7 separate regions of the Homo sapiens genome follow, and all the other regions are linked to region 1. The links are contacts of gene promoters, found by promoter capture Hi-C in blood cells and fetal thymus (Javierre and others, 2016). All regions are on one chromosome and are shown on one strand. The core of a region is centred on a gene start or on the middle of the fragment in contact, and the rest is flanking DNA. Distances in the headings are between cores, read along the strand shown.

Evidence for each region. The method cuts DNA at HindIII sites, captures the fragments that hold promoters and counts their contacts. A CHiCAGO score of 5 or more calls a contact.
Region 2: a contact is called between a fragment that was not itself captured here and the fragment with the promoter of FUS in region 1, in 5 of 17 cell types (M0 macrophages, M1 macrophages, megakaryocytes and 2 more). The highest score is 9.6, in M0 macrophages.
Region 3: a contact is called between a fragment that was not itself captured here and the fragment with the promoter of FUS in region 1, in 9 of 17 cell types (M0 macrophages, M1 macrophages, M2 macrophages and 6 more). The highest score is 15.3, in M0 macrophages.
Region 4: a contact is called between the fragment with the promoter of SETD1A here and the fragment with the promoter of FUS in region 1, in 1 of 17 cell types (M0 macrophages). The highest score is 5.2, in M0 macrophages.
Region 5: a contact is called between the fragment with the promoter of HSD3B7 here and the fragment with the promoter of FUS in region 1, in 5 of 17 cell types (M0 macrophages, erythroblasts, monocytes and 2 more). The highest score is 6.4, in M0 macrophages.
Region 6: a fragment that was not itself captured here is called in contact with the fragment with the promoter of FUS in region 1 in 6 of 17 cell types (M0 macrophages, M1 macrophages, monocytes and 3 more); the score reaches 9.7 in M0 macrophages.
Region 7: a contact is called between a fragment that was not itself captured here and the fragment with the promoter of FUS in region 1, in 5 of 17 cell types (M2 macrophages, M0 macrophages, M1 macrophages and 2 more). The highest score is 8.9, in M2 macrophages.

What each region holds. Positions count from the first base shown.
Region 1 is chr16:31,178,297-31,182,114 of GRCh38, reverse strand. FUS (FUS RNA binding protein) reads right to left here and starts at 1,976. Exons shown (of 15, transcript NM_004960.4): 1 at 1,888-1,976. The coding sequence starts at 1,900. RefSeq lists enhancers at 701-750, 851-910, 941-1,030, 456-1,216, 1,217-1,978 and 4 more and silencers at 1,261-1,310, 1,431-1,580, 2,221-2,290. The HindIII fragment of the contact is 6,651 bases long and covers 1-2,000 here.
Region 2 is chr16:30,938,624-30,942,441 of GRCh38, reverse strand. FBXL19 (F-box and leucine rich repeat protein 19) reads right to left here. Exons shown (of 11, transcript NM_001382779.1): 8 at 163-326; 9 at 1-67. Among named protein-coding and RNA genes, the nearest start is that of ORAI3, 8.5 kb to the left of the region's middle. RefSeq lists a silencer at 303-432. The HindIII fragment of the contact is 714 bases long and covers 1,293-2,006 here.
Region 3 is chr16:31,400,974-31,404,791 of GRCh38, reverse strand. ITGAD (integrin subunit alpha D) reads right to left here. Exons shown (of 30, transcript NM_005353.3): 6 at 2,547-2,677; 7 at 1,147-1,292. Among named protein-coding and RNA genes, the nearest start is that of ITGAD, 9.5 kb to the right of the region's middle. The HindIII fragment of the contact is 7,259 bases long and covers 1-3,818 here.
Region 4 is chr16:30,956,062-30,959,879 of GRCh38, reverse strand. It overlaps SETD1A (SET domain containing 1A, histone lysine methyltransferase), which reads right to left and starts at 2,126. Exons shown (of 19, transcript NM_014712.3): 1 at 1,916-2,126; 2 at 999-1,163; 3 at 694-789. The coding sequence starts at 1,148. RefSeq lists silencers at 1,418-1,507, 1,648-1,867 and enhancers at 2,468-2,597, 2,055-2,818. The HindIII fragment of the contact is 14,721 bases long and covers 1-3,818 here.
Region 5 is chr16:30,982,639-30,986,456 of GRCh38, reverse strand. It overlaps HSD3B7 (hydroxy-delta-5-steroid dehydrogenase, 3 beta- and steroid delta-isomerase 7), which reads right to left and starts at 1,250. Exons shown (of 7, transcript NM_025193.4): 1 at 1,160-1,250; 2 at 633-804; 3 at 253-408; 4 at 1-34. The coding sequence starts at 798. It overlaps SETD1A (SET domain containing 1A, histone lysine methyltransferase), which reads right to left. Exons shown (of 19, transcript NM_014712.3): 18 at 2,685-2,822; 19 at 1,793-2,607. The coding sequence ends at 2,434. RefSeq lists an enhancer at 1,269-1,781. The HindIII fragment of the contact is 29,451 bases long and covers 1-3,818 here.
Region 6 is chr16:31,001,597-31,005,414 of GRCh38, reverse strand. STX1B (syntaxin 1B) reads left to right here. Exons shown (of 10, transcript NM_052874.5): 2 at 3,812-3,818. Among named protein-coding and RNA genes, the nearest start is that of STX1B, 7.1 kb to the left of the region's middle. The HindIII fragment of the contact is 2,126 bases long and covers 571-2,696 here.
Region 7 is chr16:31,342,395-31,346,212 of GRCh38, reverse strand. No RefSeq gene overlaps it. Among named protein-coding and RNA genes, the nearest start is that of ITGAX, 11 kb to the left of the region's middle. The HindIII fragment of the contact is 4,728 bases long and covers 1-3,818 here.

The sequences.
Region 1 (3,818 bases), core at 727-3,226:
GGGAGGTGAAGCAGGAGAATCGCTTGAACCCGGGAGGCAGAGGTTGCAGTGAGCCATTGCACTCCAGCCTGGCAACAGAGCAAGACTCCATCTCAAAAAAAAAAATAAAAATAGGACCATGTTGCAACAAAGGGCATAAAATTCCTCCATGAGACACTGGTTGAGAAGAGGAACAAACTGGCGTTATCAGCCAAGTGTTCTTACAATAAAGAAAAAGTGAAGAAAATGCAAGTTTCTACAGAGTCCCAGAAGCCTTAACCATTGGAAAAACCAAGGTCTTGGTGGACATCCACAATTTTCTGCAAGCCCAATTCATGTCAGTGATTGCTCTAAAACATCGCGCATTCGTTTCATCCACTCTATGAGAAAGCCATTATCGCCAGGAGTCAAGAGACTAACTCTCCCAACGTCGCAGAACTACCAAAGTGGCACAGGTTTGAATTCGAACAGTGTTCAGATTGTGGCCTCTGCTCTCTCAGCCCAGACCCACAGAATAAGAAAGTCTCAAAAAAGGCCATTCTTCACTCTTTGACCAATCCCGGAGATGAAGTGGGCTTTTTAGTGCAAAGCCAGAGAATCAAAAGAGCCCTTGGACCCCAAATGACAGAGATCATGCAACTGCTCGCCTTAGGAGGCGAAAGTCAACAGGTACTCGAGTCCCCAGCCCTGGGACTCCAGATGGTTCCGTTTTCTCACCTACCCTGCCTTCCCCCAGCGAACAAAAAGCAACAAAAGCGCTTTTGAAAAGCCCCACTTAAGATACACGAACAAGATCAACTCATCCTCCCAGCACAGGAAACGCGGCGCTTCCCCCGCAGGAAAAGGGAAAGAGGACCAGGAGAGGGTGTGGCCTCGGGCGGCCGTTCTTCTCCGTCCCTATCTCAGAAAAAAGAAATTTAGACCAGGCGTGGTTGGCTTACGTCTGTAATCCCGACACTTCGGGAGGCCCAGGCGGGCGGATCACCTGAGGTCAGCAGTTCGAGACCAGCCTGACCAACATGGTGAAACCCCGCCCCTACTAAGAAACACAAAAATTAGCCGGGCTGTGGTGGCGGGCGCCTATAATCCCAACTACTCAGGAGGCTGAGGCAGAAGAATCACTTGAACCCAGGAGGTGGACGTTGCAGTGATCTGAGATCGCACCACTGCACTCCAGCCTGGGCGACAGAGGAAGACCGTGTCTCCAAAAAAAAAAAGAAAGAAATTTAGGCGGGAAAAACTCTCGGGCCGTCCCCAAGTCCGTTGGTCGAACCCTGACCACCGCCGCCAAACCGTTAAGCTAGAGGGCGGCCCCGATCCCGAGCCTCCGCCCCCAGCCGCGTGGCAACCCAGGCGGGAACGGAGCGATCCCGCCCATTCGCGAAGGACCACTGAGGGACAAGGCTCACACCGGACGCGCGCCGCCGAGTCTTCCGCGAAGGGTCTCGCGACAGAAAGCTGAACCAACACGAGGCGGGGAAGGGGTACCCGCGCCGCGAAGGGGGAGGGGCCCGCAGAGCGCGTGCGCGCCGCGAGTGCCCGGATGCAGCACTGCGACAAAGCGGGCTCGAGCGCGGGGCCGGGAGTTGGGGGAGGCGAGGCCACGGAGAATGGGCGTTTTCCACCCTCACCTGACGCTTCAAACCCCTAAGAAGCGTCCCTCCCAACGCCCACCCCAAGCAAACGGACTGCAAAGAAAAGACTTCCCGCCCCGCGCGCGAGGGCCAGAGGAGCGAAACAAAATGGCGACACCAGCCTCCTCCAGTTACTCTTCTCCGCGGCTTCCCGCCACAGGGGCGCCAAAAAATCCCACACGGGATCGCCGCCCCGGTCCCACTGAAAACGAAAAGCCCAGCTGGGAGGCCTCGGCCGGGTGCGCCGCCGCCGTCGCCTCGCGCCCTTACCTACCGTTTGAGGCCATGTCCGCGCACGCGCGCACAGGCAAGCAAGCAACGAAGTTCCAACACCGCTGAGTACCGACGCCTGGAGGACTGAGCAGCCCCGCCTCCTGCGTCGAAGCTTAAGTACGCTCCGCCGCCTACGCACCGCGCAGGCGCGCACCAAACGCGGAAGAGCAGGGGGAGGCAGGAACGCACTCCGCCCCCTTCGTAGGGCAGGTAGAGGGTCCGAGCAGGCAGAAGGGAAACAAGTTAACTAGAATCATGCGAATACTATACATAATCATATTTTTTGAGGAAGAACCCCTCTCTCCTCGGCAGGACTAGCCCACGATCTATCTCCACCCCCATGAAGGCACAGTGGTACGGCCTGAGTGCCCGCTGGGGGCGGGGCGAGGGGGCGGTCCCGGCGGCTGGGGACGAAACTGGAGTCACAGCCGGGAGTAGCGGGGTGGAACCGAGATTCCTGTGGCCGGGCCCCTTCGCTGGGCCCCGCTTTCACCCAGGATGGCGAGCTCCTGCCCTCCACCCTCTTGCCGCTGTATGGGGCGCCTCGTCCCCGCGGCTCCAGCCTCCCTCGTCGGCAGCACACTGGCCCTCCCTCTCCTGCGCCCTGAGGTTGACTTCGTCGTCTTTCAGGGTTGCCTTGCCTTTCGGCCTTTCTGGGGTTCGGGGATTATGACGTTTGACCTGAAAGACAGCAGGGATTTCGGCCGGGACCCCTGGGCCCCGGGCTCGTCCAGCACTGGGCTCTCACCCGGATCCTCATGGCTTTGCCCCTGGGGAGCCACGGGGCGGAACAGCCCAGGCCATCCTTGGGACCAGAGAGGGTTGACCTCAGATGTACGGTACCCAGCCTTTTCTCAGGGACCTCCTTTTTATTTTTCTGAAGCCCTACCAGGGCGATCCCAGAAATAAAACGTGTACAAGGCTTAAGTGGTTTCAAAATGCACAGATAATTTCCTTGTCATCAGTCTTACGAAGGAAGTAAAGATACCTCCGTTTTCTAGATAAGGAAAGTGAGACTCAGAGACCCAAGTAATTGTGCCTGATTACAGGGCAGCTAAGAGGAGTCGTGATTCGAATCCAGGTCTTGTAACTGCAAAACACTCCTCTTTTTGGTGGCATGAATGCTAGAGTGTTTGGTCGCCTTTTCACTTCCTGTGAGAGCAAAAGCAAAAAGAAACATTCAAATTAACTTGCAACTTGCACTTTCATCAGCCTTGCCTGGAGAAGGCAATTTGAAACTACTGAATAAAACAAGACAAAAGACGTTAATTCCTGATACATAGGCATGCAGGTTTTCCTTCCCAACTTAACCTTTCAGCGGGATTTCAGAAGGTCCTTTGAGGGTTGGACACGTCTTTCTAGAGAAACAATGAGGGCCATGCCCTGGGCCCGCCCACAAATTAAGCCCCACTAAGCCCTTGACTTCAGCCCTAAAGGCCCTGAATATGCCAATATCCACCCCACCGCCTTTGGAAGGAGAGTTCAACTCTCCAGTGAGAGCAAAAGAAAGGAAGTCCACCCTTATTCATGCATTAAGTCACAAATATTTATTTAGCACCTAGTATGTTCCAGGCACTGTTCTGGGCACTGGGTATGCATTCGTGTACAAAGCAGATGAAGTTAACATTTAATAATAAAGCTGACCGGGTGCGGTGGCTCACGCCTGTAATACCAGCACTTTGGGAGGCCGAGGCGTGTGGATCACGAGGTCAGGAGTTCGAGACCAGCCTGGCCAACATGGTGAAACCCCGTCTCTACTAAAAATACAAAAATTAGCCAGGCGTCGTCCGCGCATCTGTAATCCCAGCTACTCAGGAAGCTGAGATGGGAGAATCGCTTGAACCCAGGAGGCGGAAGTTGCAGTGAGCCAAGACGTGCCACTGCACTCCAGCCTGGGCAACAGAGCAAGACTGTCTCAAAACAAATAATAAT
Region 2 (3,818 bases), core at 400-2,899, 240 kb after region 1:
AGTGGGGCTGAGCCCAGGGCAGAGACAGAGAGCCAGGAGCAGCCAGAGAGCACCAGCTCCTGCAGGCCTGCGGAGAGGGGGCAGTCAGGAAGCAGGTGCTGTGAGGACTCCATCCCAGGCCTGTCCCTGTCCCCACCCTGTCCTCCGTACCACACACCCTACCTTGTAGTCGGTTCAGAAGCCACATGAGCTGCTTCTTGGAGACACCTGTCCAGCTGAGGTCCAGGGCACGGGGCTGGCGGCGAACCACACCACTGAGCATGGGCGGGGTCAGTGACTTCCGCCGGCTCAGGTCCATTCGAGGCCACAGACGCTTGTCATAGCACCTGGCGGCCATAGGGGGGAGACAGAGACCTCAGCCCTCAGCTCTCAGCAGCCCACAGTTCCCAGGCTCCCCAGCTCCAAGGGTGCACCCCAGCTCTCTTCTGGCCACACAGACAACAGGGTAGCAAGAAGCACCTGACCTCAGCCAAGAGCACTGGGATTGGAACCCAACTCCATCACTAACTGGAAATGAGACCCTGGGCAAGTCTGTTCCTCTCCCTGAGCCTCAGAAGCCTCGTTTATGATTGAAGGCAATAGCCCCCCCACTCTGCCTGCCCACAGGGCAGCTGTCAGGTCACATGGGCTCATCCCAGCTGTGGGCCTCCCAGCATAGAAAGTGTGCTGCCCAACACATACACAAATGCCACGCATGCTGCCTGATGTCATGCCAAGGGGACTGGTGTTATCCAGTCGTCTCCAGCCACCCTTGGGCTTCTTGATTCCTGACTGAGTTCTGGTGCTCATGGGTCCTTGCCTCCTTTACTCATCTCTGCTTCTGATCCACACCTGTCCCATCTTGACAGCCAGCTGCCCGCAGCTGGACTTACAGCCCTAATATCTTCCCTATTACATTACTGTGTTCCTCCAACTACAATGTAAATTCCACAAGGGCAGATTTGCGTTTTCCACTTTTTGAAAAAAAATTTTTTTTGAGACAGGGTCTCACTCTGTAACCCAGGCTGGACTCAGGCTCACCGCAGCCTCAACCTACTGGGCTCAAGCAATCCTCCCACCTCAGCCTCCTGAGTAGCTGGGACCACAGGCACATGTCACCACGCCTGGCTAATTTTTAAACAATTTTTTTGTAGAGACAGGGTCTCACTATGTTGCCTAGGCTGGTCTTGATCTCCTGGCCTCAAGCGATCCTCCTGCCTTGGCCTCCCAAAACACTGGGATTACAGGCATGAGCTACTGCACCCAGCTGCCCATTTGTAATGAATGAATCAAGCTAGTAACTACTTAAAGCTTCCACTGACCACTCTCCCCCACCTCCTCATCTACAGCATTTCATTTATTCACTCTGATTATAGAAAGCGTTATAGGTCCCAAGTATTGAAGCTACAAAGATGAACGAGTCCTAAGCAACATTAAACAGGTTTCCTAACCCGAGCACTCCACAGGCCTCAACAGACTATCTAACATGCAGTGGGCTGGGTGCAGTGGCTCACACCTGTAATCCCAGCACTTTGGGAGGCCGAGGTGGGTGGATCATGAGGTCAGGAATTCGAGAACAGCCTGGCTGTTCTACTAGTGAAACCCTGTCTCTACTAAAAGTACAAAAAATTAGCTGGGCATGGTGGCGGGCGCCTGTAATCCTAGCTACTCGGGAGGCTGAGGCAGGAGAATTACTTGAACCCGGGAGGCGGAGATTGCAGCGAGCCGAGATCGCACCACTGCACACCAGCTGGGGCAACAGTGAGAGACTCCATCTCAAAAACAAACAAACAAACAAACAAACAAAAAACATGCAGTGAACTGGAGAAGGGCCTCTCAAACGTACTTCCCCAGGAATCCTTCCCCACCTCTCCCAAGGTAATCTAGTAACATTTTGTAGTACACTGAAGTTCCTTTGGACTCAGTTTGAGAACTCTCTTCTCTGAGTTCAGTAGTTCTCAAAGGCATGTCCAGAAATGCCTCTGAGACTCAATAGACTGTGTCAGAAGCAGCAGGCCCAGGAAGCTTTTTTTTTTTTTTCTTGAGACAGTGTCTTGCTTAGTCACCCAGGCTGGGGTGCAGTACTGCGATCACAGCTCACTGCAACCTTAAACTCCTGGGCTCAAGCCATCCTCCTACCTCAGCCTCCTGAGTAGCTGGGACTACAGGCACATGCCACCACACCTGACTTTTTTTTTTTTTTTGAGACAGAGTTTCGCTCTTGTTGCCCAGGCTGGAGTGCAATGGTGTGATCTTGGCTCACTGAAACCACCATCTCCCAAGTTCAAGCGATTCTCCCGCCTCAGCCTCCAGAGTAGCTGGGATTACAGGCATGCGCCACCACGCCCGGCTAATTTTTTGTATTTTTAGTAGAGATAGGGTTTCTCCATGTTGGCCAGGCTGGTCTCGAAATCCTGACCTCAGGTGATCTGCCCACTTTGGCCTCCCATAGTGCTGGGATTACAGGCGTGAGCCACTGTGCCTGGCCTATTTTTTTATTTTTAGTAGAGACAAGGTTGTCCAGGCTGGTTTTGAACTCCTGAGCTCAAGCGATCCTTCCCTTGGCCTCCCAAGGGAAGCTTTCTCTTGCCTCCCTCCCTGCCCTCATGACTCTGAAAGGCTTTTCCTTGTAGAAGCCCTGGGCTGGGGCAGTGATTCCCAAGCTCCAGTATTTGCTGTTCACTTATCTGCGTAACATGATTTATCTTTGAATCATCTCCTCTTTGCACTTAAAACCAGTATTGTTGCCGGGCGCGGTGGCTCATGCGTGTAATCCCAGCACTTTGGGAGGCCGAGGTGGGTGGATCACTAGGTCAGGAGATCAAGACCATCCAGGCTAACACAGTGAAACCCCGTCTCTACTAAAAAAAAAATACAAAAAATTAGCTGGGCGTGGTGGAGGGCGCCTGTAGTCCCAGATACTCGGGAGGCTGAGGCAGGAGAATGGCGTGAATCTGGGAGGTGGAGCTTGCAGTGAGCCGAGATCGTGCCACTGCACTCCAGCCTGGGCGACAGAGCGAGACTCCGTCTCAAAAAAAAAACAAAAAAAAAAACCCCAGTATTGTTTCACATAAATATGTTAATCTTAAAAATAAACACAAAAGTCCAAGTGTGGTGTAATCCCAGCACTTTGGGAGGCCAAGGTGGACAGATCACGAGGTCAGGAGATTGAGACCATCCTGGCTAACACGGTGAAACCCCATCTCTACTAAAAATACAAAAAATTAGCCGGGCGTGGTGGCGGGCACCTGTAGTCCCAGCTACTTGGGAGGCTAAGGCAGGAGAATGGCATGAACCTGGGAGGCGGAGCTTGCAGTAAGCCGAGATTGCGCCACTGCACTCCAGCCTGGGTGACAGAGCGAGACTCTGTCTCAAAAATAAATAAATAAATAAATAAAACACAAAAAAGACCAGAGTTATTAAATCCTAGCCAGGTGTTGCTGTGGCTTTAGGCTACTACCTGAAGACTACTTTTGTTAAACAGGGAGATAAGTATCAGAGAAGTGTTAGAAAAAGCACCCAATAGTGGCCAGGCGCAGTGGCTCACGCCTGTAATCCCAGCACTTTGGGAGGCCGAGGCAGGCGGATCACGAGATCAGGAGATGGAGACCATCCTGGCTAATACGGTGAAACCTCGTATCTGCTAAAAATACAAAAGATTAGCCGGGCGTGGTGGCAGGCGCCTGTAGTCCCAGCTACTCAGGAGGCTGAGGCAGGAGAATGGCGTGAACCCAGGAGGCGGAGCTGGCAGTGAGCCGAGACTGCACCACTGCACTCCAGCCTGGGCGACAGAGCAAGACTCCATCTCAAAAAAGAAAAAAAGCACCCGATGGAGAGAC
Region 3 (3,818 bases), core at 728-3,227, 220 kb before region 1:
AGGGAAGGGAAGGACCGGCAGCAGGGAGGTCCAATCCTTGGCTGAGTCCAGCCCTGAGATGGGCTTGGCTCTGGGGAGCAAAGGCTGCTGGGAAATTTCCTGCAGTCTGGGCATGAGAGCAGGACTGGAGTTGGTGAGAACCACTCGGTCACCCCTGCCTCATTCATTTTTTTCCCCAGGCCCCACCACTGGAAGAACTTTGAGGGGTGAGGTGGAGACTCCAGAATGGGACACTCCCGTGTGACTTTAAACTTACAGGACAGACGGAGGCCTTCCTCTGGGTTGCTGAGTCACAAGGGGCCACCGTTCAAGGCAGAAGAGCCTCCCAGAAGTAAAGAGGGTGCGTTTGGTGGGAGCATCTCTTGTTTAAGCCAAATTCTAGCACCACCCCAGGGCTGCTCCCAGGGGTGTGTGCAGGAAGCCAAGGATCCCCGACCGTCAGCCCAGCTCCTTCCTACAAGAACCACATGCCTTTCTCGGGGGTCCCACCTCCTACATCGTTTTAGGAATAGACTGCATGTGCACGGGGCAGGCCCACGGTGAGTGCCTGGGTAGCACAGGGGGTGCGCAGGGGTGAGGGATGCGGGAGAGGAGGTGAGTGGGGAGAAAGGCACCAGGACGACCTTGGGTGACAATTCCTGAGTCCCTGACTACTCCATTCTCTGATAAAACCTCAGGCATTTATCCGACACCTCCTACGTGCCCCGGGCTGAGCACCCCACACACATGATCTCAATCCTAAGCTGTGAGCTTATCTTCATCTGAGAGTTACTGAGACTTAGAGCCCATCACCCCAGGGTTACACCCAGAGTAGCTCACGGGGAGCCAGGATGGGAGCCTGATGTGTCTGAGCCAAAGCCCGGGCCTCTGGCTGCTGTGGGGTGGGGAGGGGTCCTGGGGTCCAGGCTCTGCAGAACCAGGCAAAGGGGAGGCATAGCTGCAGAGGAGCCTAGTCCTATATCAGGGAGACTGGCAGCGAGGCAACCAGGAGCACCCCGGGGGGAGGTTCTCCCTGCAGCCCCGACATGCCCCTTGGTAGCCCCTTTCCCTGGAGCCTCCCTCAGCCTCTGAGAAGAGCTGTGCTGACCCAGGGTTAGGAAGTGGGGGTGGCAGTCACATCGCCAGGCTGGGGTCGGGGTTGCTTACACCACTGTCAGGATGCCCGTGGCCGTGAACGTCAGGCCTTTCAGTTGGACGATGGGATCCACCAGGCTCTGCTGGCTCGGGCTGGTCCGGAATTGGGTGAAGGTGAAGTGGATCTTCAGGAGGTTTGAGTACTGCATCAGTGCAAACTGCAAAGGCCAGTGGGGAGGGCCCAGGGCTCAGTGCCTGTTACTATTGTTTTTATTTTAATTTTTTGTAGAGACAGGGTCTCTCAAACTCCTGGCCTCAAGTGATCCTCCTGCCTCAGCCTCCAAGTAGCTGGAACTACAGGCACACGTCACATGCCTGGCTTTGTTTTTTGTTTTGTTTTGTTTTTGGTAGAGACAAGGTCTCACTATGTTGCCCAGGCTGGTCTCGAACTCTTGGCCTCAAGCAATACTCCCACCTCAGCCTCCCAAAGTGCTGGGATTACAGGTGTGAGCCACCACACCAAGCCATATTGTTTTCAGTTTTAATAAACTTTATTTTGGAATTATTTTGGATTTACAAACCATTTCCCATGTGTTTTGAAGCCCTACAAATAATATACTGAAACCCAGAGAAGAAAATTCATTGGCCCAAAAATACAAAATATAAACTGGAAAATCTAAACCAAATGATATTTCCTTCACAGTTTATTAAAAATAACTTTGCCAACCACAATATTTGCTACCCTTAGCTTTTTAAAAATTTTATCACACATTAAATCAATTTGTGTATTTCCTCCCTTCTCAAGAATTTGTGGCTGGGCGTAGTGACTCATGCCTGTAATCCCAGCACTTTGAGAGGCCAAGGTGGGAGGGTTGTTTGAGCCAGGAGTTGGAGACCAGGTTGGGCAATATAACAAGACCCCATCTCTACAATAAAAATTTTTAAAAATTAGCCAGGCATGGTGGCATGCACCTGTAGTCCCATCTACTCAGGAGGCTGAGGAAAGAGGATCACTTGAGCCTGGGAGATCAAGTCTGCAGTGAGCTATGATTGCACCCCCACACTGCAGCCTGGATGACAGAACAAGACCCTGTTTAAAAAACAAAACAGTGGGGTTTTTTTGCACATACATAGGCACTAGTTATGGGAAAATAAAATAATAAAAAGAAATCATTAGTTACATAGAAAATATGTCAGTCAAATTCCATAGCAAAATTATTTTTTAAACACTTTCAATGTTTTTAAACAGCAGAAACATTGTATTTCCTGTAGCTTTTGGATACATTATTAAATGCCAAGAGGGCCTCCTAGGTCAGGGCTCAAGTTGGGCCTGTGCTGGGACCATAGCTTCATTCTCCACCCCAGCCCCATCACACACGGCTCACTGGCCTGCCCCCACCCCTCCCGGGATGCCTCCCCGAGGCCAGCCTCCCCCGTCCCCCAAACCCCAGCCCCAGGTGCCCAGTCTTCACCAGGGTGTCAGTGCCCTCAAACTGGCCCATGACAGCTTGGACAAAGCCCTTCATCTGGTTAAAGTCATTTTGGTCAATGCTTCCAGAGCCGTCAATCAGGAAGACGATGTCCATCTCTTGATGTGGACACTCTGTGGGGGAATGGGGAGGAATCGGAGATGCACTGCGGGGGCCCAACCCCCTCCTGCAGCTCCTGCTCAACAGAGCCCGGGGGCTGTTCTTGGCATCCCCACCTAGTTTCCGACCCCTCCTTGGAGGAGGCCCCAGTCTGCCACCCCAGCCCCCTGCTCCCTTCCTCCCACATGGCCTGGAAAGAGAGGGATGACAACACAGGACCCAGGTGGGCTCCTCATCCATTTAATCAACAAATATTCATTAAACACAGATGCTAGGGGTGCCACAAGCATCAAGGGCGAATGTTTAGCAAAGTGGTTCAGGGCGCGTGTTCTGGAGCCAGTGTGCCTGGGCTAAACCCCAGCTCAGCCACGTGCTAATTGGTGAATTCAGGCACATTACTTAACTTCTCTGGACTTCAGTGTCCCTATCTGTAAAATGAAGGTAATATCAGTGGCTACCACGTGGGATCACTGCAAGGATAAAGCAACACGCACATGGGTGCTGGAGACAAGTCCTGGCCCTCTGCCAGGGTCAGCCGCTGGCACCATTCTCACCACGTGCCAGGCACCTTCGAGGCCTGTAGGATATGCCTGTAGGGATGCTGTGGGGGTGGGGCAGGGATCCACCCCAGACCCCACCCTACCCCCAGTCGGTCAGAGGTCCTTATTTCCAGCTACGTGGAGTTGGCTCTGAGCTGAGTCCCTTCCCAGGAATCACGCTAGGCAGAGGGGAACTGTTGCCCACTGGGACACCTCCTGCCCCTGGAGGAAACCTTTACCGATGACTGGTTCAGCGTCTGAAGGGCCAGCTGCACTCTGAGCCCCCCAGGCATTGGCTGAGGCCTCTGGTTTTTTCATTTTTTGTTTTTTTGAGGCAGAGTCTCACTGTCACCCAGGCTGGAGTGTGGTGGTGTGATCACAGGTCAGTGCAGCCTCGACCTCCCCAGGCTCAGGCAATTCTCCCACCTCAGTCTCCTGAGTAGCTGGGACTACAGGTGTGCACCACCTTGCCTGGCTAATTTTTGTATCTTTTTGTAGAGACGGAGTTTCGCCATGTTGCCCAGGCTGGTCTCAACCTCCTGGGCTCTAACGATCCACTCACCTCGGCCTCCCAAAGCACTGGGATGACAGGCAAGCACCCCAGTGCTGACCTTGG
Region 4 (3,818 bases), core at 877-3,376, 220 kb after region 1:
GCATACAAGCCTAGAGATGTTGGCTGGAAACAGATACTTGGAAGTCATCAACATTTAGGTAATAGTTGAAGCTGTGGGTGTGAAAGAGATTGTCCAAGTGAAGTGTACAAAGTAAAAAAAAAAAAAAGAAGAAGAAGAATGAAGGGACCCCACAAACAATTTATTTAGAAAGGAAGAATAAAGAATCAGAGAAGGAAATGAAGAACCACCAGTGTTCCAGGCCCAGTTCAAGGCCTGAAGAATATCTTGTCTAGGGTGGAGAATAGGAGTCCTCGAAGGAAACAAGAGGGAAATGACATCGCCAAATGAGAGGCGGGGAATAGTGCTACCCAGGTAGGCAGTGGCCTTGTCACTCCCCTTGACTGTCAAGGAACTGGGAGATCCCACTCTTGTGTGCTATGATGCACTGTCTACGAATATACAGTGATAGGTATAGCAGCTAAAGAGTCTTTACCTCACCCTTCAAGAAGTCGACACCCCAGCCACCAGGGATACACTTAGGACACCTGACCTGCACCTTTCTGGAAGATTAAGTGTACCTCCTATCCAAAACAACTGAGTCTCACAGCCTCAGAGGTTGCTAGATCTGGCTGAGATCCTTTCATTGGAAACCCTTTTATTCAGCTATAGTGCCAAGACGCATCCTCCACACCCTCTTAGGACTACCACACCAGGAGCCCAGCAGACACTTACCTTAAACTTAGGGACTGGGAGGGAAAAGTCTCTGTTTTTGGACCTGACATGGCAACGGGGGTCTTGGAGGTCTTCGACTGGTATATACTTTGAGTCCTAGGAAGGAAAGCAGCAGCAGAAAGAGAGCTCAGGGTGAATCCAGGCTAGGGAGCTCCAAGCAGCCCATCTGGACACACACATGCAGAAGAGCTGGGTCCAACTGCCCACTTTCAAGAAGGCAGGCTACCGTTCTAGGTGCTGAACAGAATCACAGAGGACGGGCGCCTGGAGCTCCCCGGATGGCAACCAAAGACCCGGGCACTCACGTTGACACTGAAGTGGACTCCATCATAGCGGTACACCTTCTGAGAAGGCCTGCGCAGGGCAGGGTCCAAGGCAGGATCCACGATGAGCTTGTAGTTCCGCCACTGGAAGCTCGGGGCCTTCTGCCCATCTCCCCCACCTTCCTGATCCATCTTTGCTCATTTACACTGTTAGGGGAAGAGGGACACGCAAGAAGGATCAGGACTTGGGGCCTGACTCCCCTGCCTTTCCTCATTGGCTAGCCCCGATTCCAGGTTCTCCCATCACTCCAGTTTCCAACCCTCACCCTGACCCGGGGCTCCCCCGGATTCTCCCCCAAGTACCCTCTGTTTCGCCACAACAACCCAGCCTCTTTCCACCTCCCAACTCTACTGTCAGGCCCCCAGGCCCGTCTCGAGCCCCCTTACCTTCCCGCTCTCCCTAGCGCGCGCCCCACTTGGCCTCGGAGCAAGACCCCTCCCCCGCCCCCTGCAGGCCCCGCCCCCTCCCGCCTCCTCACCGGCCAGCGGCCCGGGCCGAGCCCGGCCACGGCTCCCACACACCCGCTCTCCTCCCCGCGCCCCGATCCTCCGGCCGAAAGGTGGCACCTCTTCGGGGCGTTGGAAACACCGCGAGACCGAGCCCGAGACCCGGCTTCGACCCCGAATCCGGGCGGGGGGGTGGGGGGAACGTGCACCGCTGCCCTCTCCTCCCGCCCCGGCGCGTTCTGCACCCCCCCCAGCAGGTCTCCGCGCACGCGCGCCGCGCGGCCCCACTCACCCGCTCCCGGCGAGCGGCTCCCCCTCCCCCCACCTCGCGCGGCACCTCAGCGGCGCGAGGCGGCGGCAGCGGCAGCGCGAGACCCGGCCCCGCAGCGGTGGCGGCGGCGGCGCCCCCCCACCACCACCTCCCCGGCGCGCGCACCAAACACCACTGCCACCTGCGCGAGGCCCAGCGGGCACAGGGTCTGCATTCGCACTTTCGCCACAGGCGCTGCCGGGGGACCCACGGGGCCGAGGGTAGCGGCTTCGCCTCGGCCGGCGCCCTGGGAGGCTCGGAAGTTGCGGCCCAGGGAGCTTGGAGATTGGCCGCATCCCCCGGAGAGTCGGCTTCGCCACGACGATCTAGATGCTGCGGCCCGGGACCTTGACGAATCGGCGGCGACGAAAGCTGCGACTAGTCCCTGAGGAAAAGGGGCGGGGCGGAGGGGAGGAGGCCAGCCAGCGCTGGGGAACCTTCAGTGGCGCGTTCTGCAGACGCAGATTCACCGGGCGGGCGGGGCGAATCGCTGGACAGGATGCGCGCCGCTTTGCTTCTCTTCCCCGTCCCTTCCTTGCACTGCCAAATTCTGAGAGGCTGCAGATTCGCCACTGTTCCCGGCCTCAGCCGTAGCCTCCCCTTCATCCGCCTTGGTGGAGTCAAGAAAATAACGGCCCGTTAGCCAATCCCTGCTGGCAGAGTCGACAACTTTTTTTGGATTTTTCTTACTGGCCCAAGTGAGAGAATAGCCCGCTTCTGTCCCTGGGGAAAATGCCTCCAGCCCAGCGCTCCTCTCAGAGTCCGATGAGAATTTTCAGCCGAGTATCGAGGGACCCGAGGAATTCTGAGGATCCGACCTGGCGAATCTGCGGATTCCGCTGTGGGCGGGGCCGAGTCAAGGGGCGGGGCCAGGGCGTGCAGAGCCTGGGACTAGGGGGCGCCTCCGGGAGGACCCACGAGGACTCACCCGGATGGGAGGGACGGCCGGGAGGTGGAAAAACACAACCGTGAGCGGTGACTCAGGCGGTTTGCCCCGCCTCGCACATAAATGCAGGGTACCTTTCCTTCCCGTTATTGCCCTTGGGTGTCTGGCTGCTTAGGATGCCCATTTGCCAGATGGGGAGAGTGAGGCCTGTAGAAGGTGCCCTACTTTGCCGTACTCAAACCCACCATTAGTGGTTAAATCCAGGGACCGCCTCAAGGTTTTCTGATGAGCCTAGTGGGGCCTAAGTGCCCTTAAATGGGCCTTGTAATAATAAACGAGGTCCTACAGGAACGGGACTGGACTGGTGTGTCCTCCTGGCGTCATGGTCCCACTGCCCGCTTCTTTGGCTATGGCGCCCTATGCTCACGGGATGCCTCCGCACAAGGGCAGCAGCGGCCCAGGCCTACCCCTGGAACTCGGGCTGAGGTTTCTGAAGGCTGGGCACCGTTTTGATCCCGTGTGGGCGCAGGCACTCCCAGGAGGTCCCTTTTCCTGAGCTGAGGATGCCCCAAGCTCCTGATATGTGTACATCAGGCCCTCGCTATATGGCCTTGGGCAAGTCATTGACCTAAGTTTCAGAGTCTTCCTTTAAACTTGGATGTCAATTTGTACACATCCGAACAGTGCAGAAAAGACCCTTAGAGCCTGGTTTATGCAAATTCACCATTTTAAGTAATAGGAAAAGGTGGAAGGGAGACTTATCCAAGGTCTCACACCACAAGATAGAAGAAGATTAGGACTCTACAATTTTGAGGGAAATAAGGCTGAAAAAAATAATTTACGTGGAGGCATAGGTGTTGAGATCAGATTCCTTTCTGTTCCAGTTGAAAGGCACTGGTTCCTTTTCTCAAATCAAAGAGAGATTCCCGTGTGAGGGGTAGATAGTCCAAGTTCAGTTTCATGGACTAGCTGTGTGGTTTTGGGCAAGATCTTCAGCCTTCTTGGGCCTGTTTCCTTATCTCTGAAATGAAAATGATAAAGACTTAACGCTTAAGGTGTTGTGAGAGTTAAATAAGATAACCTATGAAAGTCCCCTAGTATGTGGTAGTTGCTCAAGAAAGAAACTTGAGGCCAGGTGCAGTGGCTAACACTTGTAATC
Region 5 (3,818 bases), core at 1-2,500, 190 kb after region 1:
GTCTGCACACAAGCCTCGATCACGTTCCGGGTACCTGGCAGAGGAGGAGGCGTATCCAAGCTGCAGCTTCTTCCCTCTCTGCATCTTCCTCCTCCCCATCCCAGGTCCAGGGAAAACCATGACAGGTCAGGGGAGGCGGGGGCAGGGCTGTCAATAGGACAACTTGTCCCAGGGGAGTCACCGGAGGTCAAGGCCAAAGACAGAGTGGGGAACAAACAGGCAAGATGGCCAGGAGTGTCCAGAGCTCCTCACCCTGCACGTTGACCTCATGGATGGTCTTGGGACTGGCCCTGCCAAACACGTCTACCAGCCCAGCCGTGTGGATGACCACATGGGCTCCGGCCACAGCTGCTGCCACCTCATGGGCCTGGGTCACGTCCCCCTGGATGGCAGTCACCCTCACAGGCCCTGGCCGGGGTTGGAGGACACAGGCCATGTCAGAGCTGGGGCCAGAGGCCAGAGGCTGGGTTCATCTTCCACCCTGGAGTCACGTTCCCAATGTGACTCACTCGACCCATCCATGTGGACAGAAACCAGCATCATCTGTTCCACTGCAGGGGTGGGGATCCCAGCTTGGGAAGGGTTGGGGAAGCGTCCACACCCTCTCCACCACAAGCTCCCCCAACAAGAACCTGTCTTCAGCTCCTCCAGCCAGGGACCCAGGTGTTGGTCAAAGACCCGCAGCTCCCCGAGCCGGGGCTCCCGCTGCAGCAGCATTCGCACCACGTGCTCTCCCAGGAAGCCACAGCCCCCTGTGACCAGGTACACCAGCTTCTGGGCCTGTGCAGAGTCGGCCATGCCTGGCTGGGGAAGAGACCTTGGCTCATCCAGGGGCTGGCTGCCACCTGCTGCAACCACCTGTTACTGCTGGAGGTGCCCTGGAGCGGTGACGAGGCTGGCGTTTGCGGGGAGGGCAGAGCTGATCCTGGGAGCTGCAGCAACCAGGCCACCTGCCGTCTGCCCCTGCTGATGGCTGAGTTACGGAGAGAGGGGCGGGCTTGGGGTGCAGGAAGGGGTCAGGGTTTAGGGAGAGAGATTTGAAGGCAGTAAAAGGGTGGGGAGGCCAGGAGTTGAGGGAGGTGGAGGGAAGGTTATAGGAAGGTGGGAAGGGCCGGATGGAGGGAAAGGCCACCTGGGCACTGGCAGCGCCTCTGCCTACCTGCAGCCGCTATCCCAGGGTGCCCAGACTGGCCTGGAGGGGCCCTCTTCTTTCGTCCAGGGCTGGCCGGCCCGCACACCGTCCTTCCGCTGGCTCCTCCTTCTCCCTCCTGCCCCATTCCAGGAACAGAGACCCGCCCAGCCACAACCCCCACCACTCTTGCCCCAAGGCGCCCCCTGGCGGCCGCTCTGTGCTCCACTGGCATCTGGGTCCAGCGGAGAACTTGGTGGGGATGAAGCTCGAACTTGCAGAGTGGGCTGAAGGGGTCTGGGGCTGTGGGTGGAGCCAGCGGTGACCTCATCCCACAGTGTGACCTCAGGCCTTCCCTCCTGCTGGGCTTCCCAGGAGGCCGGAGGTCCAGCTGCAGCTGTGATTGTAGGAAGGGGAGGCCTGACCTTGGCACCACCCTGGCGGGCACTGGTGGGGTATTCCTGGTGCGGGTGCGGCTGCTGCAGCCTGTCAGGGGGTCCGAGACAGTCTCGGACTGTCTCTGCAGGTCTGGGCTCTTGCCTGAAGGCCCCTTTACCTGCCCCACACTTCAGGTACCCACTTTTCCCTCTCTTCAACTTGCACAACCCTCCGTGCCCTCTACCCCCAACCCCTCGCTCCTGCCCAAATACACCGACCAAACACTTTTGTACAATAAAGTTTAATCACAATTATAAAAATGTGGCGTCGGGTTTGCGCTATTAACATATGTACAGTCCAGCCCAGCAAAAGGGACCCACCCCGCCATCCTGGCCTGGCTGAGCCGGGGAGTGACACCAGGGTGGAAGGGTGACCCTCAGGGTCTGGCAGGAACAGATGAGGCAGGGTTCCAGGCACGGAGTCCCCAGGACTGGGGGTGCAGAGCCCCCCCAGGGGGAGAACATGGCCACTGCCCCAGAGACCCCTAAACTGGGGAGGGGTACACGCAGGGCGTAAGGGGAAGTCCCCATTAACACAAAGCAAGAGGACTGTGTAGCCCCCCAGGACAGAATCTGTACAGGCCGGCACCCCAGGTTTCCACAGGAAACAGCTGCTGGCTGCTACAAAACATTTACAGCTTCTTCTCCGCAAAGAAAAACAATCAGGGGGTGGTGGGCAGGGGTGACAGGAGAGGCAGAAGCTGCCTCCAGGGACTGAGGCTCCCTCGCTGGGCTTGGGGCCCCCAACCCCACGCTTGGAGATGGGGGCATGTGGGCCCTGCTGAGCCCACTAAGGCTGGGGGGGTGCTGGGAGCTCAGGGCACCAGGGGGAATAAATAGGGGTGTGGGCACCCATCCTGCCCCACCTCAGTTTAGGGAGCCCCGGCAGCTCTCTGTGCCACACAGACACGGGATCTTGTTGTCTTCCAGTGGGAACTTGTAGTCGTAGGTGATCTCCTCGTCCACGCCAATGGGCTGCTTGGAGTAGATCACGATCTTCTTCTGGGACTCGATGGTGATGACCTTGGCGTAGCAGTTAGGCTGCGGATGGAAGGGCGTGTGAGCCGTGGCCACCCCCACCGACCCCCAACTCCTGCCCCGGCTGGCCCCTGGCGCACCGTGCAGCAGTGGTTGATGAATCTGGCCAGGTTGCCACACTTGGTGGCATCGATGATGGTGTCGTGGTCCACCCGGAACAGGTAGCTGCTGCCAATGCCCTCCTGCACGTAGCGCTTCTCCCGCATGTCGGCCACCATCTGCCAGGGTGAGATGCGATGGTCAGGGAAGAGTCCCCCACTTCCTGCCCCTGAGCACGCCTGCCAGCCAGCACCCCAGGTCCACGCCCACCAGGCCTGGAGCTGCAGCTCTGCCTCCAGCTCCCGCTAACCCGGCACTGACTCTCTCGACTCTGCTTCCAGGAGCCCTCCCTCTTTGGGGCAGCATCCTAAGCCTCTGGTGGCCATTCTAAGTCACCCGCAGGGAACTCCAGGGAAATCTGCACTGGGTAAGAGAGCCACTGACTCCTTCGAGCATCTGCCTGGTCACAGTGGGGTCCCGGACTGCTGGGGCAAGTCTGGGGTTGGGGCAGCTCCTGAAATGACTGGCCATGTCACCAACGGCACCCTGCTCATCTCTCCTCCCTGGACCTCTCTCCAAAACAGGCACCTGTTGGCTGCCACCGGCTAATGCAAATGGCAGGCCGCCCATGTCAGGCCCCGCACCTCCGTGTGAGGAGCAACCCTTACTTCCCAGAAGACAGTGAGGAGCCTCTGCACGCCCTCCTCGGGTGACCTCACTCCCTTCCAGAGCCTCAGCCGCCAGCTATGTGGTGGGGACTCCTCCCAAACTTCCATTTCCAGCCAAAAGCCACCTCAGTGGAGCTGCTGGGCGTCATCCCCTAGATGTCCCTGGGGCATTGCAACCCCACATGTCCAGACTGGAGCTCATCTTGACCATATATTTGTTCTTCCTCCTCACACCCATCTCACTGGCCCTCCCATCATACTCCCAGCAGCTAAGAGCAGCACCGAGAGAGGGCCTCCCGTCCCCCTCACCCTCTCACTGCTGAGCCCAGCCAACCACCTTGCACCCAAAGCCTCCTCTCTGTCACCTCTGCTGCCACTGCTTGGGTCGGGCCACCCTTGCCTTTGCCTGGATACTGGTGTCAGCCTAGACATGGAGCTCACTAGCCATGGGGCCCTCTCCTGCGGAAGGACCCTCTCCTGCGGAAGGACCCTCTCCTGAAGAAAGCT
Region 6 (3,818 bases), core at 384-2,883, 180 kb after region 1:
ATCAGCACATATATGTTACATCCTCGATTTGCACATGAGGCAACTGAGGCTTGAATCGTTCACCTGTAACCTGAGGCCACCATAAAGTAGACTGGGGCACATTTGATCATCTTTTCCTAGGTAGTCTGGTTTGCCCACAGCCTGCTTTCTTTTTGGCTGGCCTAACTTCTTCCAGAAATGGATGCTGTACTCATTACTAAATATGCATCACTCAGAGCACGGAGGGCCCTTCAGAGCAGGGTGGGCACTTGCACCAGTCTGCTCATTTCAGTGATGAGGGAACTGGGGCCCAGGGAGGAGTCTAAGTTTGCCTGGGGTCACACAGCAAGACAGACGGAGGCTGGGAGGGATGGCCTCCTGTCCAAGCTCTTCCTGCAGCCCTGGGCCCCTCCTACTGATTTTCTGTCCTGGCTGCAGGAGTTCAGCAGTCCTGAGGACATGGCAGAGTGGGCTTTTTAGGACCAGGAGGGACTGCCATCTGTCAGCAGGACAGAAGGGAGAGAGCCTGACATTTAGTGCCAGACAGTCCTGGGTTCAGGTCCTACCTCTGGCCTCATTTGCTGTGAAGCTTTAGGCAGGTCAGGCAACCTCTCTGAGCCTGTTTCCTTGTCTGTAACATGGAATCAGCCGGTGGTAGGCATTGTTACCACTCAGCAAATGCAGAGACTAGGCTCAGGGGTAGAGCCAAATGGTCTTCTAACAGCTGACCTGGGGCAAGTTCTTTTTTTTTTTTTTTTAAGAAACGGGGTCTTGCTCTGTCACCCAGGCTGGAGTGCAGTGGCACAATCACAGCTCACTGCAGTCTCTTGACCTCCTGAGCTCCGGGGATCCTCCTACCTCACCCTCCCAAGTAGCTGAGACTACAGGTGCGCACCACCATGCCCAGCTAATTTTTGTATTTTTTGTAGAGACATGATCTTGCTATGTTGCCCAGGCTGGTCTTGAACTCCTGGGTTCAAGTGATCCTCCCACCAGAGCCTCCCAAAGTGCTGGGATTACAGGCGTGAGCCACTACAACTGGCCTGAGTTATTTAGCTCTATGCCTCAGTTTCCCCATCTATAAAAGGGGGCTATAATAATACCTCCAAGGGGACTGTTGTAAGAATGAAATGGATAGATATATGTGGAGCACATAGAACAGTGCCTGGCACATTGTAAAACATCATCTAAATATTTGCATAAGTATAATTATGTTGGCCAATGGTCCTTACAGAGTCCTAATGAAGATTAAATGAGATAACAAGAATGTAAGACTTACGCAAAAAATACCATCAAGTGCTCTTGTTTTGCTAGGTTGTCCGGACACAGAGCCTTCCCCAGATTGGGACTTAGCAGGCGCTCACTGAGAGGGAAAGTAACTGGGAGCGGAAAGTCAGTGGGGGAGGTAGCCCAGTCTGGAGCCTAACAGCGGTCTTTGAGGGGCTGGATGCCCATGGTTTTCTGGCCCTATGTGGCCTGGGTGCCCTTGGGCAAGTCACTCTCCTTTTACCCCCCTGGCTTCCTGTTCCCTCATCTGTGAAATGGGGACGATGATGTTTATGCAGCTTTTCTCTCAGGGCTGGTGGTGCTGAGGATCAAAACGGATTATGGATGTAAAAGTGTTTGTAAATGGTAGAGGATTATTAGCTCCCAGCTCTCTTTGTATTTATTATACCAAATAAACCACACTTGGGCCTTCTATCATTCTTCCTGTCTTGAGGGCAAACAAATAGGTAGCCCAGGGTGCTCCAGAGATGAACCTAAGGGAGGTGGCTCCAAGAACAACAGGAGAGATTGAAATTAGATTTTAGGAAAGACTTCCTAACATTAGCATGGGGAAGGGAGAGACACAGAGAACAGGAAAGTCCTCAGGCACCCGGGCCAGGGAGAGGCCGCATGACCTGCGTGAGGCTGGTGGCTGAGTGAGTGGTTGAAGGGAGAGAAAGGGCAGAGGAAGGCTTTTGGCTCTAGGGGAAGGAGGCCTTGTAGCACAGCTGGATTTTGAGGACAGAGAAAGTGAAGAGCATCATGGTAGGCCGATGGGTCCTCAGAGGTGAGCCCAGCATCCCAGAGCCTCTCAGGGTCCCCAACTTATGCCACCTGTGCCGCCCCACTTTCTGGGGGCAGCTGTGAGCCAAGACAGAGGAAACTCCCTTTCCAGGCGGATGGTTGGGATTGTCTGGAAATTCAACACAAGTGCTGAACACATTTTCCGACACAGTGTGGGCCCAGCGTCTGTGTGAAGACTCCCTGGAGTTCCATTTGGGCTGGGCTTAGCAGGGAGGCTGGGGTGGCTCAGGAGCGTGGAGCTGGAGGCCCCCCAGGCTGTGCTGGCTTTTCCTGGGGCTGTGGGGCACTGCTGATCCTGAGTTTTGGCTGTGTGGACTGCACCTAGGTCCCATCTGGCCCTGTCTAGGTTCAATCTGAGCTGTCTGGGATCTGTCTGGGATCCGTGTGAGCCTCGGCTAGTTCAGTCTGAGCCTGTCTGGTTTCTGTTAGGCCCTGTCTGCGTTCCGCTGGGACCCTGGCAAGCTCTTCTTTTTGGATTCCAACTGAGTACACCCCCAGGTGGATGCTGTTTGGATCCTGTCTTGATTTCACCCAGCCTCTGGGGTTTGGATTCTGTCTGAGCTCTGGCTGGGTTCTTTTTGGAAATCAGAATGAACTCTGTATACATTTCCACTGGGGCTGATCAGGGCTCCAGATGTCATTAAGCTTGATGGACTCAGATTTTGCTGTCAGACCTCTGTCCCAAGCAGAGAAGGACTCAGGTGTGTGTAGCACAGGGCACCTCCCCTACAGCCTCTCCTGTCCAGCTCTGAGTGTGTGTGCAGACATGAGGCTCGGAGAAGCTGGAAGAACAAGCCCAGTGAGCCCTCCCAAATGTCCTCAGGGGTGCAGCTGAAAGCCAGTGTGTCCACACATGTCAGTGCGGCTCAGCTGTGAGTCTGCGTGCGGGTGAACGCCAGCATCAGTGCATCTCCGTGTGGGTGTCGGGGGGGCCTATTCCTGTGTGCCTTGGGTGTCAGCTCTTCTGTCTGTGTCTCGAGTCTGTCTGTCGGTGGCAGTGGTGCTGTGGGTGGGTAAATCTCTTTGTGTCTCTGAGCCCTGCGGGTGGAGGGTTGAGCAGCTGCAGGTTGCAACTGGGAAATCCAAGCCAGCAAGAGTAGGTGGGTGTGAAGTTGGAAGGGGCTGGATGAAAGCAAGTGAATCCACTGCGAGGGAGAGCCGGCTGGGAGGGGAGGGAGAGTGGGCGGGAAGAGGGGGGCACAGGGCGCGAGGGAGGTCGGGGTGCTGCCCGTATCTCTTATCCAGCCCTCACTGCTTGCTCAACTTGGCGCCTGCCGCTGGCAGTGAAGTGACCTTGCACAGGGGACATGTCTGGTCAGGTGGGGCAGGAGAGGAAGAGAAGGAGTAAAGTGAGATCTGGGCAGGAGAGCAGGAACAGTAGGGAGATCCAGGCTCCCGGGACTCTAGTCCAGGACCCTTCATGGAGCCCAGGGTCAGTTACTGCAAGCCTGACGTTGAGCCGTTGTTGAAATATTGAAATCATCCCTATTGGCTGGTCAAGGCTGGCTCTGCGCCCCCAAGGCCACATCCACCCTGAGAGGGGGTCTTTTTCCAATTCCTTCTAAGGAATCCTTTGGGCTGACAAACACTTTTGGTGCCTTTGCCATCTACCCTGCATGGGACCCCTCCCAGGACCCCTCCTCTGAGCCTAGAGCTGGGAGCACCTGTGTGTGCATAGCAGGGAGAGGGTGGGAGAGCTGGAGAGCCAGCCTTGGGGACCCAGGTAGGGCCTGCTCATGGACTCAGCCTTCCTTGTCCCCAGGCGAAAG
Region 7 (3,818 bases), core at 936-3,435, 160 kb before region 1:
TGATTAAGTCCTGGACATGGGGCTGATTGTTAGTTATTGATAGGCTTCCTGGGCTGGTTGCTGCAGGCTGGGGGGCAGATGTCTATTTTTATGTCTAGTCTGACCACTATCCCTTTGTATATTCAGTCTCTTGGACTCTAGAAAATGTGAAGTATGCCAGGTGCGGTGGCTCATGCCTGTAATCCCAGCACTTTGGGAGGCAGAAGCAGGAGGATCACTTGAGCTCAGGAGCTCAAGACCAGCCTGGGCAACACAGCAAGACCCTGACTTTACAAAAATTTAAAAATTAGGCTAGTACTGGCTGGGCACGGTGGCTCACACCTGCAATGCCAGCACTTTGGGAGGCTGAGGTGGGCAAATCACGAGGTCAGGAGTTCAAGACCAGCCTGACCAACATGGTGAAACCCCGTCTCTACTAAAAATACAAAAATTAGCCAGGCGTGGTAGCGGGTGCCTATAATCCCAGCTACTCAGGAAGCTGAGGAAGGAGAATTGCTTGAACCCAGGAGGCGGAGGTTGCAGTGAGCTGAGATCGTGCCATTGCACTCCAGCCTGGATGACAGAGCAAGACTCCGTCTCAAAAAAATAAATAAATAATTAGGCTAGCACAGTAATGTGGGCCTGTAGTCCCAACCACTCAGGAGGCTGAAGCAGGAGGATCCCTTGAGCCTGGGAGATCAAGTATGCAGTGAGCTATGATCGCACCACTGCACTCAGCCTGGATGAAAGAGAAAGACCCTGTCTCAAAAAAAAAAAAAAAAAAAAGAAAGAAAGAAAAATGTGAAGTGGCCCAGTTGGATACTATATGGTCCTGAAGATGTGTTAGGATGAAGGGAAAGGGATGTCTGAGAGCTGTCTCTCCTTCAAGAGTGCACAGAGAATAGGAAGCTGGGGAAACCCAGGCCTGTTCATTCATTCATTCCCTCTCTCAGCAATTGTTTGTTACATGTTCTGGGTATTGTCCTAGGGTCTAGGGGTGTGATGGGGCTTCCTGTCCCCTGGGAATGTACAGTCTCCAGGAAAAGAAATGCAGGTTGCCATGGCAGCAAGTGAGAGGCAGAACTTCTCCCAGCTGGGGGATCAAGAGGATCTGGAGGAAGATCACTTCAGCTGAGGCAGGGGTCAGGTGAACAAGAAAAGGAAGTGAGTTCTGGGCAGAGGATACAGCATAGGCAAAGGTTGAGAGGTGAAAGGGAGTTAGGGGAACGCGGACAGGTCCCGACCTTCCCAGATAGGCCATGTTGAAGCCGGGCTTCTCCGGTAATTACTAATCACAATGCCTTTCACTTTCAGAAGCGTGTTGGTCAACCAAAGTGTGGCTCACCTCGGAAATGTGAGGTTCAAGAGGGAGGGGTGGGCCGGAGCAGAAGCTGAGCTACAGAGGAAGCCAGGGTCTCAAAGGTCACCTCAAAAACAACTGCCCAGGCTCAGAGGCCAGAGTGCTATGTGGAGTCAGGGGACCAGAGTGATTGGAGAGCCGTGTCCTGCCTAATAGGGCAGTTCTGTTGCAGCCTCATATTGCCAAACGTTTCAGTTTTTCTTTTTCTTTCTTTTTTTTCTTTTTCCTTTGAGGCAGGGTATTGTTATGTTGTCCAAGCTGGAGTGCAGTGGTGCCATCATAGCTCACTGCAGCACTGACCTCCTGGGCTCAAGCAATCCTCCCACCTCAGCCTCCTGAGTAGCTGAGACCGCAGGTGTGCACCAGCACACCTGGCTAATTATTATTATTATTTTGAGATGGAGTTTCACTCTTGTTGCCCAAGCTAGAGTACAATGGTGTGATCTTGGCTTACTACAGCCCTCGCCTCCTGGGTTCAAGCGGTTCTTCTGCTTCAGTCTCCTGAGTAGCTGGGATTACAGACACCCGCCACCACTCGCAGCTAATTTTTTGTACTTTTAGTAGAGATGAGGTTTTGACATGTTGGCCAGGCTGGTCTCGAACTCCTGACCTCAGGCGATCCACCAGCCTCAGCCTCCCAAAGTGCTGGGATTACAGGTGTGAGCCACTGAACCTGGCCCTTTTTTTTTTTTTTTTTTTTAAGAGACAGGTCTTGCTATGTTGCTCAGGCTGGTCTTGAACTCCTGGGCTCAAGCAATCTGCCCCCTTTGGCCTCCCAAATGCTGGGATTACAGAACTGCACCACCATGACTGGCCTCCAATTTTTCTTTTTTTATTATTATTATTATTATACTTTAAGTTTTAGGTTACATATGCACAACATGCAGGTTTGTTACGTATGTATACATGTGCCATGTTGGTGTGCTGCACCCATTAACTCGTCATTTAGCATTAGGTATATCTCCTAATGCTATCCCTCCCCCCTCCCCCCACCCCACAACAGGCCCCGGTGTGTGATGTTCCCCTTCCTGTGTCCATGTGTTCTCATTGTTCAATTCCCACCTATGAGTGAGAACATGCGGTATTTGGTTTTTTGTCCTTGCGATAGTTTGCTGAGAATGATGGTTTCCAGCTTCATCCATGTCCCTACAAAGGACATGAACTCATCATTTTTTATGGCTGCATAGTATTCCGTGGTGTATATGTGCCACATTTTCTTAATCCAGTCTATCATTGTTGGACATTTGGGTTGGTTCCTAGTCTTTGCTATTGTGAATAGTGCCGCAATAAACATACGTGTGCATGGGTCTTTATAGCAGCATGATTTATAATCCTTTGGATATATACCCAGTAATGGCATGGCTGGGTCAAACGGTATTTCTAGTTCTAGATCCCTGAGGAATCACCATACCGACTTCCACAATGGTTGAACTAGTTTACAGTCCCACCAACAATGTAAAAGTGTTCCTATTTCTCCACATCCTCTCCAGCACCTGTTGTTTCCTGACTTTTTAAGGATCGCCATTCTAACTGGTGTGAGATGGTATCTCATTGTGGTTTTGATTTGCATTTGTCTGATGGCCAGTGATGATGAGCATTTTTTCGTGTGTCTTTTGGCTGCATAAATGTCTTCTTTTGAGAAGTGTCTGTTCATATCCTTCGCCCACTTTTTGATGGAGTTGTTTCTTTTTTTCTTGTAAATTTGTTTGAGTTCATTGTAGATTCTGGATATTAGCCCTTTGTCAGATGAGTAGCTTGCAAAAATTTTCTCCCATTCAGTAGGTTGCCTGTTCACTCTGATGGTGGTTTCTTTTGCTGTGCAGAATCTTCTTAGTTTAATTAGATCCCATTTGTCAATTTTGGCTTTTGTTGCCATTGCTTTTGGTGTTTTAGACTTGAAGTCCTTGCCCATGCCTGTGTCCTGAATGGTATTGCCTAGGTTTTCTTCTAGGGTTTTTATGGTTTTAGGACTAACATGTAAGTCTTTAAACTATCTTGAATTAATTTTTGTATAAGGTGTAAGGAAGGGATCCAGTTTCAGCTTTCTACATGTGGCTAGCCAGTTTTCCCAGCACCATTTATTAAATAGGGAATCCTTTCCCCATTGCTTGTTTTTGTCAGGTTTGTCAAAGATCAGATAGTTGTAGATATGCGGCATTACTTCTGAGGGCTCTGTTCTGTTCCATTGGTCTATATTTCTGTTTTGGTACCAGTACCATGCTGTTTTGGTTACTGTAGCCTGGTGGTATAGTTTGAAGTCGGGTAGCGTGATGCCTCTAGCTTTGTTCTTTTGGCTTAGGATTGACTTGGCAATGTGGGCTCTTTTTTGGTTCCATATGAACTTTAAAGTAGTTTTTTCCAATTCTGTGAAGAAAGTCATTGGTAGCTTGATGGGGATGGCATTGAATCTATAAATTACCTTGGCCAGTATGGCCATTTTCATGATATTGATTCTTCCTACCCATGAGCATGGAATGTT